Regions from separate parts of the Homo sapiens genome. Here regions 1 and 2 are each linked to region 3. The links are contacts of gene promoters, found by promoter capture Hi-C in blood cells and fetal thymus (Javierre and others, 2016). All regions are on one chromosome and are shown on one strand. Each heading gives the region's core, a stretch centred on a gene start or on the middle of the fragment in contact. The rest is flanking DNA. Distances are from core to core; before and after follow the strand shown. Region 1 holds the start of TSPAN14 (tetraspanin 14). Region 2 overlaps RPS24 (ribosomal protein S24). Region 3 holds the start of ZMIZ1-AS1 (ZMIZ1 antisense RNA 1).

Evidence for each region. The method cuts DNA at HindIII sites, captures the fragments that hold promoters and counts their contacts. A CHiCAGO score of 5 or more calls a contact.
Region 1: a contact is called between the fragment with the promoter of TSPAN14 here and the fragment with the promoter of ZMIZ1-AS1 in region 3, in 1 of 17 cell types (non-activated CD4 T cells). The highest score is 5.5, in non-activated CD4 T cells.
Region 2: a fragment that was not itself captured here is called in contact with the fragment with the promoter of ZMIZ1-AS1 in region 3 in 3 of 17 cell types (total CD4 T cells, naive CD8 T cells and total B cells); the score reaches 7.8 in total CD4 T cells.

Annotation. Positions count from the first base shown.
Region 1 is chr10:80,452,561-80,456,906 of GRCh38, reverse strand. TSPAN14 (tetraspanin 14) reads right to left here and starts at 2,597. Exons shown (of 9, transcript NM_030927.4): 1 at 2,536-2,597. RefSeq lists enhancers at 1,482-1,531, 1,562-1,821, 1,771-2,288, 3,032-3,241 and a silencer at 1,952-3,001. The HindIII fragment of the contact is 5,289 bases long and covers 1-3,280 here.
Region 2 is chr10:78,038,131-78,042,056 of GRCh38, reverse strand. It overlaps RPS24 (ribosomal protein S24), which reads right to left. Exons shown (of 6, transcript NM_033022.4): 5 at 1,832-1,853; 6 at 1,360-1,442. The coding sequence ends at 1,851. Among named protein-coding and RNA genes, the nearest start is that of RPS24, 6.2 kb to the right of the region's middle. RefSeq lists enhancers at 707-756, 825-1,326, 1,647-2,156, 2,157-2,668. The HindIII fragment of the contact is 642 bases long and covers 1,180-1,821 here.
Region 3 is chr10:79,065,684-79,070,112 of GRCh38, reverse strand. It overlaps ZMIZ1-AS1 (ZMIZ1 antisense RNA 1), which reads left to right and starts at 2,665. Exons shown (of 10, transcript NR_024431.2): 1 at 2,665-2,725; 2 at 3,527-3,665; 3 at 4,294-4,366. It overlaps ZMIZ1 (zinc finger MIZ-type containing 1), which reads right to left and starts at 1,147. Exons shown (of 25, transcript NM_020338.4): 1 at 843-1,147. RefSeq lists enhancers at 137-186, 1,388-2,233, silencers at 387-1,366, 1,627-1,696, 2,497-2,706, 2,807-2,856, 2,897-3,106 and a cis regulatory region at 829-1,514. The HindIII fragment of the contact is 3,772 bases long and covers 1-3,715 here.

The DNA of each region.
Region 1 (4,346 bases), core at 1,348-3,847, 1.4 Mb before region 3:
ATTTTTCGTAGAGACAGGGTTTCACCGTGTTGGTCAGGCTGGTCTTGAACTCCTGACCTCAGGTGATCCACCCACCTCGGCCTCCCAAAGTGCTGGGATTACAGGCATGAGCCATCACGCCCAGCCATCACAGCTGTTTTCAAGGATTAAATGAGTTATTACAAGTCAAACTTCTAGGGTGTAAGTCTCAATAAACTCACATTAGTATCACTATGAAATAATCTTGTCCTTCACTAAATTTTAAGCCAGCAAAGGTTTCCCAGGCCTGGCACAATGCCACTTTGCAGGCACTGCTAAAAGGAATTCTACCTCAGTTGAAGTTAAATGGGTCAAATTCCTGAGCACATGGTGGCATAGAGTGAGGCCTCAGGAAATAGTTCCAGAACCCAGGGCTTTCCTGCTCCCCGGCCTCCATGGGAACTTCACTTCACTGCCGCCACAACCTTCAGGGCAGAGCCATCTCCTCTCCCACTTCATACTGCCACTTCCTACATGAGAAGGACCTTCACCAGTCCTCAGAGACTAGCACAGCTGCCCAGCTGGTGAAGGGGACAATTCCCTGGGCAGCCAACCATTCTGCAGCTCCATGCCCTTTCTTCCTGGGGCAGCCACAAACCTTCAGAAGCACCCATGGGCTCAGACCCCCCCCACAACCCCGTCTCCCTAAATGATCCTGCTACGCTGAGATCAAGCTCAGATCAATAAACACTACTGAGCACCTATGCCATGTCCAGCCTGGGTTCTAAGACCACACCAAGTTCATAGCTGGTGAGGGACTTTCCAGACTTGGAATAGTGCCTGCAACAATGCCTCGCACCCCACAGAAATCTCAACCATGCTTTGTTAACTAAACTGAGGATGACATTAGGTGGCCCAAGCAGTGGAGTTCAGAGATGTGGGGATGGATATATCCAGAGTCTCCAACTGAAGTTGGGGTGCAACACAATGAGAAGGAAAGGGAAAATACATCTGGTGGCCCTGGGTTTCCAGGGCCTGTCACTATAACGTTAGGGATCGGAGTGGGATCAGACTGCGCGTGGTGGCTCACACCTGTAATCCCTGTGCTTTGGGAGGCTGAGGTGGGAGGATCACTTGAGCCCAGCAATTTGAGGCTATGATCACACCAGCAGCTAAGGGGATAGAAGGGCATACAGGGCCATTATGGTGGAGTCTGGGCTTCATTCTGGGGGTGCCAGGGCCCAGGAAGATCCCTGGAAAGACGGCCGCCCCCACCAACCACTCGGCTAGCTGAAATGTGGCAAGGACATAGGGGTGCTCCGATGGCCTGTCCCCAGGTTTCCCTTCACAAATAGAGAAGGGTGGCCGGAGCACTCAGCAGGCACTAACTGCTTCTGGACTTCAAGGTCAAGGGGCAAGGGGAAGGCTACTTTTGAGGATTTGGCAGGCCACTCTCTCACTAGCCCAAGAGCAACTCCCTCTCGGAAGGGAGGAAGATCCCCTGGAGAGCAGACCACTGCCAAGAGCACACCTGCAGAGGCTCCAATACAATGCTCTGCACAGCCGCCCAGCACCGCCTGACCTCCCGGATAGCAGCGCCAGCACAGCCAACGAGTGTGTGACACCGCCGCACTCACCACCGCTCTGCGCCCAGCCCCAGGCCAGTACCCGGGCCCACGACTTCCCCCGACTCCCCCTAGCACGGACTGTTTCTCGCCGGAGATCAACTTTAAGTCCCCAAGACAAGTGCTCCTGCGGTCCCAGGGCCAAAGTCCCTCCACACACCCTCACACAGGCACTTCCTACCCACCCGCACCCCACCCCTGGGGGTGGAGGAGAAGCAGCAGCGGCCCGGGACAAGCACAGTCCGCAGCCACAAACCTCACTCTACCAGAACTCCGGCTAGGTCAGGGGTCAGGCTTTGCTCCCAAACACAACCCCACACGACTAACGCGGAGAAGCTGGGTCACCGCCTACTCAAACTCCGGCCGTCCCAAACCCAAGCCGGGCAGAGTGGGACCCACGGCGGCGTGGGAGACTGAGCACAACCACGGCGGGGCAGGAGGAAGGGGCGGCCCGCCCCGGCCTACGCCCACCCCCACCCCGGACCCGATCTCCTGGGAGCCGAGGGTGGGTGACTGAGCCGAAAGGGTGGCCCATCCCCGAGCTCGCTGCTGGGGACGAGAAGCAGAGCCCCGAGCAGCAGCGGCCGTCCAGGCTCCCGTCGCCCTCACCCCGCCCGGCACGGGCGCGCACTCGCCGGGGCGCGCTGATGGGGCGAGGGCTACCGAACCAGGAGTGCCGGCCCCGGGCCCGCCGCGGCTCTCGTCCGCGCGGCGCCGGAGTTCGGCTCAGCGGGGTCCCGGCGGAGGCCTCCAACCTCTAGCGAGCAATCCTGGCAGACAAAGCCAGCGCCGCCCGCGGGGCCGCTCCTGGGCAGGCGGGGAGGGAGGCTGAGGGGCCAAACAGGGACCTAAGGAGCAGCCCTCGCCCCCGGAGAACGCTCGGGGAAGTCGGCCTCAGACAAAGAAAGGGGCAGGGCCCGACGCCCCAGCCAGGTCTCCGCGCTCTACTCACCCGCGCGCGGCGGCGGCAGCGGCGGCGCGGCCCGGCTCGGCCGAGGAAGTTAGAGCAAGTTCCGCGGCGCGGGGCGGGAGGGCGCGACTCGGGCCGTCCGAGCGGCGGGGGCGGGGCGCGGAGGGGCGCGGAGGGGCGGGGCCGGAGGCGCGGCGCCTGCCGTCTGCCGAGGAAGGGGCGCCGCTTCCCTGCGCCGCCCGGTGCGGCCCCGGGCGCCTGGGCCCGCCCTGGCCCCGCCCCTCCCCCAGCCGCCTCGCCCCTCCCCCACCGCACCCCGCCTCCCGGCCCGCGCGGCACCGGGGACCGCGAGGCCGGGTCGCCGGCCCGCCCCTTTGTCCCGCTCTGGGCGGTGCCGGAGGCTTGGGGCGGCCCCGGTCCGCGCCCTCCCAGTGGGTGCGCGGCGCAGGCCGGGCCTGGCCCGGGGCCGGGCACTTGTAGCCGCCGGGAGCGCTCTGAGCCGTTGCGCTGCGCAGACGCCGCTCTGGCCTTGTCGGAGCCGAACCTGGGAGAAGCACGAGCTGTGGGAGGCGGCGTCTCGAGGGATACACGGGATGACCGTGGAGAGCGGGCGAAGGATTAGGAAAATGGCTGTGGTGGAGATAAGAGGCGTTCCTGCCCGGCTTTGGAGCCTGGGGGCGGGGGTAGTCTTCAATCAAAAGAAGGATGGGGAAAAGGTTTTTATTTCTTTGTAAACCAAGGAGTAAGGACACGCTCCTTCTGGCCTTGGTGCTAAAAATACCAAGCTTTCTTTGGATCGTGGCTGAGATTTCTTCCTAACCTTTACGCTAAAGAGGTGGCTGGGACGATTCTTGTGGTGTAGGGGGGTTTCCAGGGACAGCCAGGGGTGGCGCCCCTCTTTGGATCGTGGCTGAGATTTGTTCCTCACCTTTACGCTAAAGAGATGGCTGGGACGATTCCTGTGGGGTAGAGGGGTTTCCAGGGATAGCCAGGGGCGGCTCCCCAGCCTCAGCCTCCCTACCTGTAGAATGAAGCATGCCACACCTCTGTTTCTTAAACTTATTCGGTGGCTGAGGGCCGAGTGGTCTTCTCTGTTGAGTAACACCAAACAGGGATCTATTAAAACTGGGCTAAGACTGGTTGCCACATGCCAGTACAAGCAACCAACAGGTTAATTCCAATGGAAGGAGGAAATCTTGAAATGGAGACTGTTCAGTCCATTCCCAGGTTTGTTTGGGTTGTTTTTTGAGCTAAGGTATCGCTTTGTCACCCAGGCTGGAGTGCAGTGGCATGACCATGGCTCACTGCAGCCTCGACCTCCCGCCTCAGCTTCCCCAAGTAGCTGGGACCACAGGTGCAGGCCACCACACCTAGCTAATTTTTTTTTTTTTTTTTTTGTAGAGACGAGATCTTGCTGTGTTGCCAGTGATGGTCTTAAATTCCTGGGCTTAAGCAATCCTTCCGCCTCTGCCTCCCAGAGTGCTGGAATTACACGCATGAGCCACGGTGCCTGGCTAATTTTATTTGTTTGTTTAATTAAGAGGGATGCAACCTGTCTGTGACAGCCCAGGCAGCTCTGGAAACTCCCTGGGAACCTGTCCATTCATTCAGCAGATAGTGAGTGTTTGTCTGAGTGCCTGATAATATGCCAGGCCCTGTGTGCATGGTGGGATACTTCAGTGAACAAGACAGCTGAGGCCTTTTGCCCAATAAAGTTAATTTTTAGTGGAGAAGACAAATACATAATCACAAGTTGAAGTAAAGGCTGGGACAAAAACAAGGGGCTAGAATAGAGAATAAAAGCTACCTTAGATGAAGCAGTCAGGGAAAGTGAGGAGGCGATGCTGAAATTG
Region 2 (3,926 bases), core at 251-2,750, 1.0 Mb after region 3:
AGCAAGACTGCCACATTTTCTATAATATCACAACCCAAGTGGATCCTCTGGAAAAATAGGCCAAGCCTGAGTTTCATCCCACCTCCCTTCCCAAGGCTACTGGCTGAAAGACTACAACTTCTGCCCTGAGCACAGCTGAACAGAAAAGCCTCCCCACTTCGTGACTTTGATGCCAACCTTCAATCATTCAGGCTCTCTGCAGCTATGCCCTTTTTCTTCACATCAGAAACTATTTCCTACCCTTCAGTTCTCAATTGCTTCCTTCCACTCTCCCTGCATCAACTTAGCAACCACCCCCAGCTCCACGTCCTGTCCCATCCCATCCCATCCCATCCCTGCAGCACTGTCAGGATCCTCACCACCTTGCCTCTGCAAGCTGCTCACAGGGTGCCTTCTCTGCTTCCACACTCCAGCTCAGTCACAGGAAACTGCATCTCAAACCCCAACCTTTGCTGCCCCTAGCATTACCTTCAGCCTGGTATGCACTGTTCATCAAAAAATGTCAAATCACATCAAAGACCCCATTCTTCCACACGTTCTGTACTAGTAAGCCATTTCCTGGTCCTAGCAAAGTAGTAGCAGATTCCTTAGCAAGAGAACCTACAGGGCCAGAGGCCCCACAAACCGAAGTACACAGCCTCTGTAGATATGAAAACAGAACTCCAACCACCCCCTGGCCAGCAGGCCCAGCCCCATGACTTAACTCTTCTCAGCCCTGCCCTCCTGTCTGTAGGTGCTCCATGCAGGGGCTGTGACCATCTTTTCTCCAAAACATTCCACTACCCTTCCTTCCTGCAACCTCAACCCTTCTGCCTTCACGGTATTGCTTTTCCTGAGTCCCCTTCATGCCCAACCAAGTCTTTCAGCTCTCTACTGCTTCCTGAGATTTCTCCAGTTTATCCAGACATGGTACTTTTTAGACTCTAAGCCAGACGTGGTCGCTCATGCCAGTACTTTATGTGGCCAAGGTAGGAGGATCGCTTGAGCCCGAGTTCAATCAAGACCAGCCTAGGTAACAAAGCTAGACCCTGTCTCGAAAAAAAAAACACCTCACTGTAGCCTCGAGCTCCTGGGCTTAAGTGTAATCATCCCACCCAAACCTCCCAAAAGTGCTGATGACTGTGAGCCACTACACTGCGTCCACCGCGGACATGGTTCTTAACACAGCATTTACAAGCTTGACTCCCAGATGAACCCACCTAAGCTATAAACCAAGCAGCAAACAAACACCACCCCATGACATTAAGTTTTCACTGAATGCTTCATGGAGCATGTGAACTTGGACAGCAACTGAAATCAGCAGACTAACCTCCTAGCAGTCCCAGGAAACTGCAAATACATTTCAAACAACCAGACACATGAAGTTTTTAGTTTATTAATGTTCTTGCGAAAAATCCACAGTGGCCACAGCTAACATCATTGCAGCACCTTTACTCCTTCGGCTGTGAATCAAGAGAAAGAAGTTTAGTCAACAACTGCCTTTAAAATTCTTTAAAGTCTTCAATTCCAAAAGTAGTAACACTCATGCACAACAATTATTAGTAACCTAGAATATCAAGTTATTTTGATGTTATCATAACACAATGAAAGCATCAAGAAATAAAATTTACAAACATTCAAGTTAAGAATAAAACAAAAATAATGGGCTAAATATTGCTAAACCTTAAAAACAAAACCATGTCACTGTTAGTATTTTAAAAGGTTACAACTCTTCAGAATATTTGTAAATCTACTTCTAGATGTACTACACATGATCTGCTTTTAAATTGCTACGTCAGTACACCAAGGAGTCTAGTGATCTACATGACTACATGAAAAGCTTGAATTATACCTGTGATCCAATCTCCAGCTCACTGAATCAGTGGCGGGGAAGGGAAAAAGAGAAAGGAGGGAAAAGAAAGATTTCATTAATAGTCCCTTTTCAAACTCCAAAATAATCTGCATTTAAGTGCATGCAATCAGGTACCTTAAAGATGACCATTTTGTTCTTTGCAATTGTATACAGAGCACTCCTTCCAGACTCACTGATTTTATTCCTCCCAATTCTGACAATGCCTTGCCTGATTACTGTAGTTCTTATGCAAACGAGGTAGCCGGACTTCACAATGAAGAGATCATTAAGCCAATGTGGTACCCAGGATGGCCTTGCCCACTTGTCAATGAAGTACATACCTGAGCCTCTGCCCCTCTGCTCTGCCCAGCAACATTGTGCTGGACACACACCAGGAACAGTTACGAGAATCATTACAGATTCAAGTCTAATTTAACCTCAATGGGAGTGCTCTAAATGATCAGGCAAGTCTTTTAAAAGCTGCCTCAGTTCAATAAAAGATACCATTCACAGCCACAAAAGTAGTACAAGTTAGTATTTAAAAAGAGGCATTAATTTAGCTGAACTAAAAATACAATTGCTCCTCAGATATGAGACTACTAATGCCTTAGTATAAGTAACTTAGTATATAACTCCATCGCAACCAAAAAGCAAGAACAAATACCAATTCTAACATCTAAACAAAACTGAATTAAAAGCAATATTGCTATGGCATTTCTTTGGAGCCAAAGAATTTATGTACTCAAATGCATTGATTTTTCCAGCTGGCTTTTCAGAGCAGTGCTAGTGAGAGGCACCAGTGTAACTTGAAGCAGGAATAGTGATGGCTCAGGTCCCCACAGGTAGCTCCTCCATACCTGTGGGACTCAAAGGCTAAGGGCACTAACTCATAGGGCTCAAAGGCTGGATGAAGAGAACAATCAATGTGTTAAATGTCCTTCAGACCTAGGTCAGAGGACAAATTTTGACTAATTCTTTTGACTAATTCTTTTTGCAACTTCTCTCAACAGGTACAATCCTCACAAACAGGGAGTAGTTCTTAGTGAGTAGTTCTGCTGGCAGTTCATTCATTACATACTCCATGGCGCTGGGACATCAATGTGATTACAGTCCTGGGCAGGCAATCCCAGGTTTACTGCCTTGCCTGGCAGGGAATCACTGCAAAAGGATGCCACAAGAACAAGGGCCTTCATTGATTCAAAATCCCACTACGCCCACCCCACTCCTACCCCACTTATCACATTACAATTTTAGGCTGTTCAGATGTGCAAAATTTGTTTTAAATGAGGTAACAGGCTGGGCACAGTGGCTCACACCTGTAATCCCAGCACTTTGGAAGGCTTAGACAAGCAGACTGCTCAAGTCCGGGAGTTCAAGAGCAGCCTGAGCAACACGGCTAAATCCTGTCTCTACAAAAAATTGGCAGGGCACGGTGGCACATGCCTGTAGTCGCAGCTACAAGGGAGGCTGAGGTGGGAGAATCACCCAAGCCCGGGAGGTACAGTAACCCATGATCATGCCACTGTACTCCAGCCTGGGTGACAAGAGACCCTGTCTCAAAAAATAAACAAATGAGGTAATGGGCCATTCTAACCAAGTGCTTGTGGGAAAAAGCATATCCACCAAAGACTTTTATATGAATACATAATTACCTCAAAAATTTTCTATTTTAAAAAAAAAAAAAAAGACACCAGGCACAAAGTTGGGAGATTAAGTAATAAAAAGCAATGGAAATGGTAAAAGGCAGTTTTGCGTATATCCAAACAGGACAGAGGCTTTGCCAGATTTCACAGACTAGTTTATTACCAGTGCTGCCAGGCTGGTTTCATGGCTCCAGAGAAGACTGCTCCTTGGATAAGAGAGCCCTTCCCAAGCCCAGTGTTAACTGAAGCCATTTCCTAAGTATGTGGACACAGCATTTCCCAAGTGCCTACTTGGTAAAGTACTCACCTTCCTCCAGTGAGTCACTTCACATGTAACATGCATTTTGGAGTTTACAAAATAAACATGATTTTAAACGTTTTCTCCTTTGCTCATAATATACTATCTTAAAACATATTAGGTTGGTGCAAAAGTAATTGTGGTTTTTGCCACT
Region 3 (4,429 bases), core at 1,416-3,915:
CCCCGGCTGGCCTCCCACTCCCCCGGGGCCACCGCCGCCGGAGACGGAGAGGAAGAAAGAACACGGGGAAATTACTTTCGTATTTGCAACGCGCGCGCGCACACACACGCACATCTTCCCCCTGGGCTCCCCTCCTGGCCGGGGCAGCCCCGTCCAGGCACTGGCCTGAGCGCCCCTCTGGCTTGCGAAGCCCTGGGAGAAAACCCTGCACACACACCTCCGCGTTTCTCGTTTGTACCGCGCGCCAGCTTTCCCCGGGCAATTCCCACACAAACAACTTAACCGCGCCCCCACCTCCCATTTACAAAAGTGTATGTTTTCCCTGGAAATTCAGACGCACAAGTTAACACCACCACCCCTTGCCATCCTGAAATCCAGCGCTTTCCCCAGCGGTTCCTGTACACACACAGGCGCACAACTTCGCATCTCCCCAGAGGAGGCGAAGGAGACCGAGGCGGTCCTTCCCTCCCTCCTCCGATTCCCGGTCCTGCCCGGCCCCCGGGTGTAGGGAGCGAGGGCTGGAGGCGCGCCGGCAGGAGGCGGGCACCGGGTCCGCGCGCGCACGACCACACTTACGCCCCGCACACCCTGACAAACCCGGCCCCCACGCGCAGCCCAAGCCGGCTCCGCGCAGCCGGGAGCTCGCCGGCCGCCGGGCCTCGGCCCCCGGCCGCCAAGGAGAGCGGAGCGGAGCCCGCGCCGCCGGCCGGTCGCCCCGCTCCGGGGGACACTTTAAGGGAAAAACCCCAGCACCCAATCCCCACGCTTGCACCCCGAGAGTCCCCGGGGAGCGGGAGGTAGCCCCGGAGCCAGCGGGCGCCTGGCTCTGGCCCCAAACTTACCGGGCGCTGCGAGCGCCGCTGCCGCCGCTGGAGGACGCGCCGCCGCCACCGCCGGGTAGGGCAGGCTCGGGCCGGGAGGAGCGCAGCGAGGGCGCCGAGATCCGCTCGGCTCCGGCTCCTGCTCCGCGCCGGCTGGGGCTGGGGTCACCGCGCTGCGCCGGCGTTGCTCGCTCGCTCGGCCGCCCGATCGCTGCTCGCCCGCCTGCCGCCCGGCCGCCCGCTCTCCCCGGCGCCCGCCGCCGCCGCTCGCTTTTTTAATGTCCACAGACAGTGAAAAGGAACTCGGCGTTAGGGGGTGAGTAAGTGAATCAACTCGCCCGGAGCCGAGCAAGTTGAAGTGTCAGATTACATTGGCTATTCTATTTCCAAAGGGCCCCGCGCCGCCGGCCGCCCGCAAAAGCCGGTGCGGAGTCAGGCCGGAGTGGAGCGCCGCGCCGCGCCGCCGCCGCTGCCGGCGCTCGGCTTGGCTCGCGCTCTGCGCTCTCTTTCCCCTTTCCTTTTCGCCTCTCCTCGTTCTCTCCCTCGCCTTTCCTTTCCTTTCTCTTCCTCTCTTCCTCGCTCCTCGGTCTCGGCGCTCTCCCAGCTTTTCTTCTCCTGGCTCCTGGTTCCCCGCTACGCCACCAGTCCACTCACCTCTCTCCTTGCCCTACTCCCTCCGCTACTCCCTGACGCCCCCTGCAGCCCCCAGCCCCCCTGCAGGCCCCAGCCCCAGTAAGTTTGGAGAGGGGAACAAATGCTGAGCCTAGGTAGGGACCACCTTGGGGAGGAAGCCAAAATCACACTGCTCACCCGAGAGCCCCTGCCCCGCGCTGGCACGCCCCCGCCTGGAGTGCACTCGTGGCCCCGGGCGCTGTCAGGTACCCGAATTGGGGTAAGCGAGTTGGTAACTGGACCTCCAAAGCCTTCCCCTGGGGTTGACTTTGGAATTGTTCCTACAGCCCGGGGACTGGTGGTTGGGGTGGGAAGAGGACCACCACCACCAAGGGTGACTTTGAGGGAGACTAGAGCGCGGCCCCCCGACAGCTGTGGGGGAGCGGGGGTGTGGTGGCCACAGTTGATCCGCGGCACCTAGCACAGTCCAGAGACGCGTGGATTCCCCTAGGCCCGGCGCGGAGCGCCCGGGGCGCTGTGCGCGCGGGCTGCGTGGGAGCTGCTAGGCTGGGGCCTGGCCCTCTGCCCCGGACTGGGCACTGCCAGAGATAGCGGAGAGCTAAGGTACTCACGAGGCGCAGTTGGGTGCACCCACTCGCGGGAGTTCCCCTAGCCGACCCACCCCCCCCCCCCGAGAGCATCCAACTACGCGCCCACTTTGGCTCACGTCCACTGCCACTCTCACGGAAACTCCTACAAGAACGGCACACACGTTCGCTCCCTCAGCATTGCAAACACGCTCCCCCCCAAACCACAAACGCGCCCCCACACACTCGCTTACTTTCCCTCACAAAGATGCCCGCTTACACGGCCACAGCAGGCACGCTCAGAGACACGCAGTTACACACACACATCGCTGTACACAACCCCACATACAATCAAAAAACAAAACACGAAACGTTCCCCTGGGCACTAAATCCTCACGTTAACGTACACACACAAACACACGCCCTCCTCTCCCACTTCCTCTTCCATACCCCTTCCTCGAGGCCCCCCACCCCTGATTTTCGGCACCCCCAGTCCCAATCATAATTGGCGCCCGCGCAGCCCTCTTTGGACACACACGCGCCGCCCACGCACGCGCTCCCCTCCCCGGCAGGCGGGGGCGGCTTCGGCCGGGAGCCGGCGGAGCCCGCTTCGGATTCCAGGTGTGGCAGTGACTCCGCGCTCCACGTTTTGCAGGCTGCCACCGTGTCGGAGGCGAGGCGAGGAAGGGAGCTGGAATAACAAAGGCAAGTTGGGGAGAGCGCAAGGGGGCGCAGCCCCGGCCGGGCTGCGGGGGGAGCCTTGCACGGCCGGGGCTTCGGAGGCTGCAGGGTCGGGGGCGCGGGGAGCCGGAGGTGGGGGAGGAAGGGTGGGGGGAGAGGGGCGGGGCTGAGGCGTGACGTCAGAGAACAATGACACCGCCGGGGGGCGGGCACCCGGAGGCGGCCCAGGCGGGGGTCTCCCCCGGGGCCTGGGGCGGGCCGAAGATGTCCAGGCCTGGCCGGAGCCGCCTCCTGATTGACGAGGCCCGCATGGGAGTGCGGACGTGCAGCACAGATTTGCGGGTCTCCTGGGCCTCTTGGGCGGTGATCAGCGCGGACCTTGGGCCAACCGGGGAAGCAGGCCGGAGCACTACCCCCCACCCCCATTTTAGAACATCCTTCTGAGGGCTTCGCTGACCTCGGCTTGAACTCCTTCAGAGCCGGAGAGATCACTCCTTCCACCACCGAGGGAGAGGAGGCAAAATGAATTTGCCAGCTTTGAATTCATTCTCAAGGCTCCGCTAGTCTCACAGCCAGTGAACTCAGTCTGGAATTCCTGAAAGCTCAGAAAACTGCTGCTTAGGTCCACCCGGGCGTGGGGGACGGGGTGTGTGGGGGCGCAGGCGGCGGAGTGGGGGCGTTATTTTATTTTCCCCAGGGGAAATTCTGCCTCCCTATGCCATTGGGTGCAAGAAAAGGCACTCCTTTGGGGCCTCAGTCTTCCTACCTGTCACATGGACATGGACTGTGATGACTGCTGCTCTTCCACCCCCGCCCTCCCTGTAGGTGGCAGCTGAGCATCCCTGGAGAGGGTGGGTGGTATGAAAGCACTTCCAGACCTCTAGGGACACCAGGGAGTCATGGTCCCAGCACATTGCTGTGTGATTGAGCCCCTCCTCAGCCTGTGGGTGGCCTAAGTTCACAGGTAGGTACACCAGGGCCACCTGAGAAACCTCCGAAGGTAGGAATTAAGCTTGCAGAACGGTGGCTGCAGCCACAGCTGTCCCACTCCCAGCAATCCACAGCATTGCAGCAGTGGCAGCAGCCACCCCATACCCAGGTCCAAAATCCCAAAAGAGAGTTTCTGGGTATTTAAGGATTTGGGATGTGATAATCCAGCCCAGCCCACAATTAGACCAGTTCTTGTTGCCTTAATGACCAGCTAGGTCTGGACGCCCAGCCCTCTCAACCTTTCTGTCCAGATTCCTCAATAAGTATCCAGGGCCTGCCCACTTCCAGGAATTGGGGGATGCAGGTGACCTCGGAGGTGACCACTCATGTTCAAAGTCTCCTGTCCAGAAGCTCCACCCCCTACCCCACATCCCAGCCCCCTACTCTCCCACCAGTATTTACATCTGAAACCCAGGAAGTGGCTGCAGAGGGCAGAGGAGCCAAGTAGGCTCAACTTAGTAGCATGGAACCAGGGATCATTTCAACCCTCCCCTTCTGTGCAAGCATGGCAGCAAGTCAGAAAGCCCACCAGGGTCCTGGGTCTTCCCTAGGCTCCAGTCCTTGGGTCTCTGAGGCCCTTGCTCTCTTTGTTCATCTTCCAGGGAGGTAATGGGGTAGATTGGATACCTCTGGGGTCTTGGAAGAAGCTATGACTTATTTACTGTCTACTATGTGGTGAGTACTGTGGTGGGTCCTCCTAGGTATTGAGAATTCAGTTCCCTGATTGAACTGTCACAT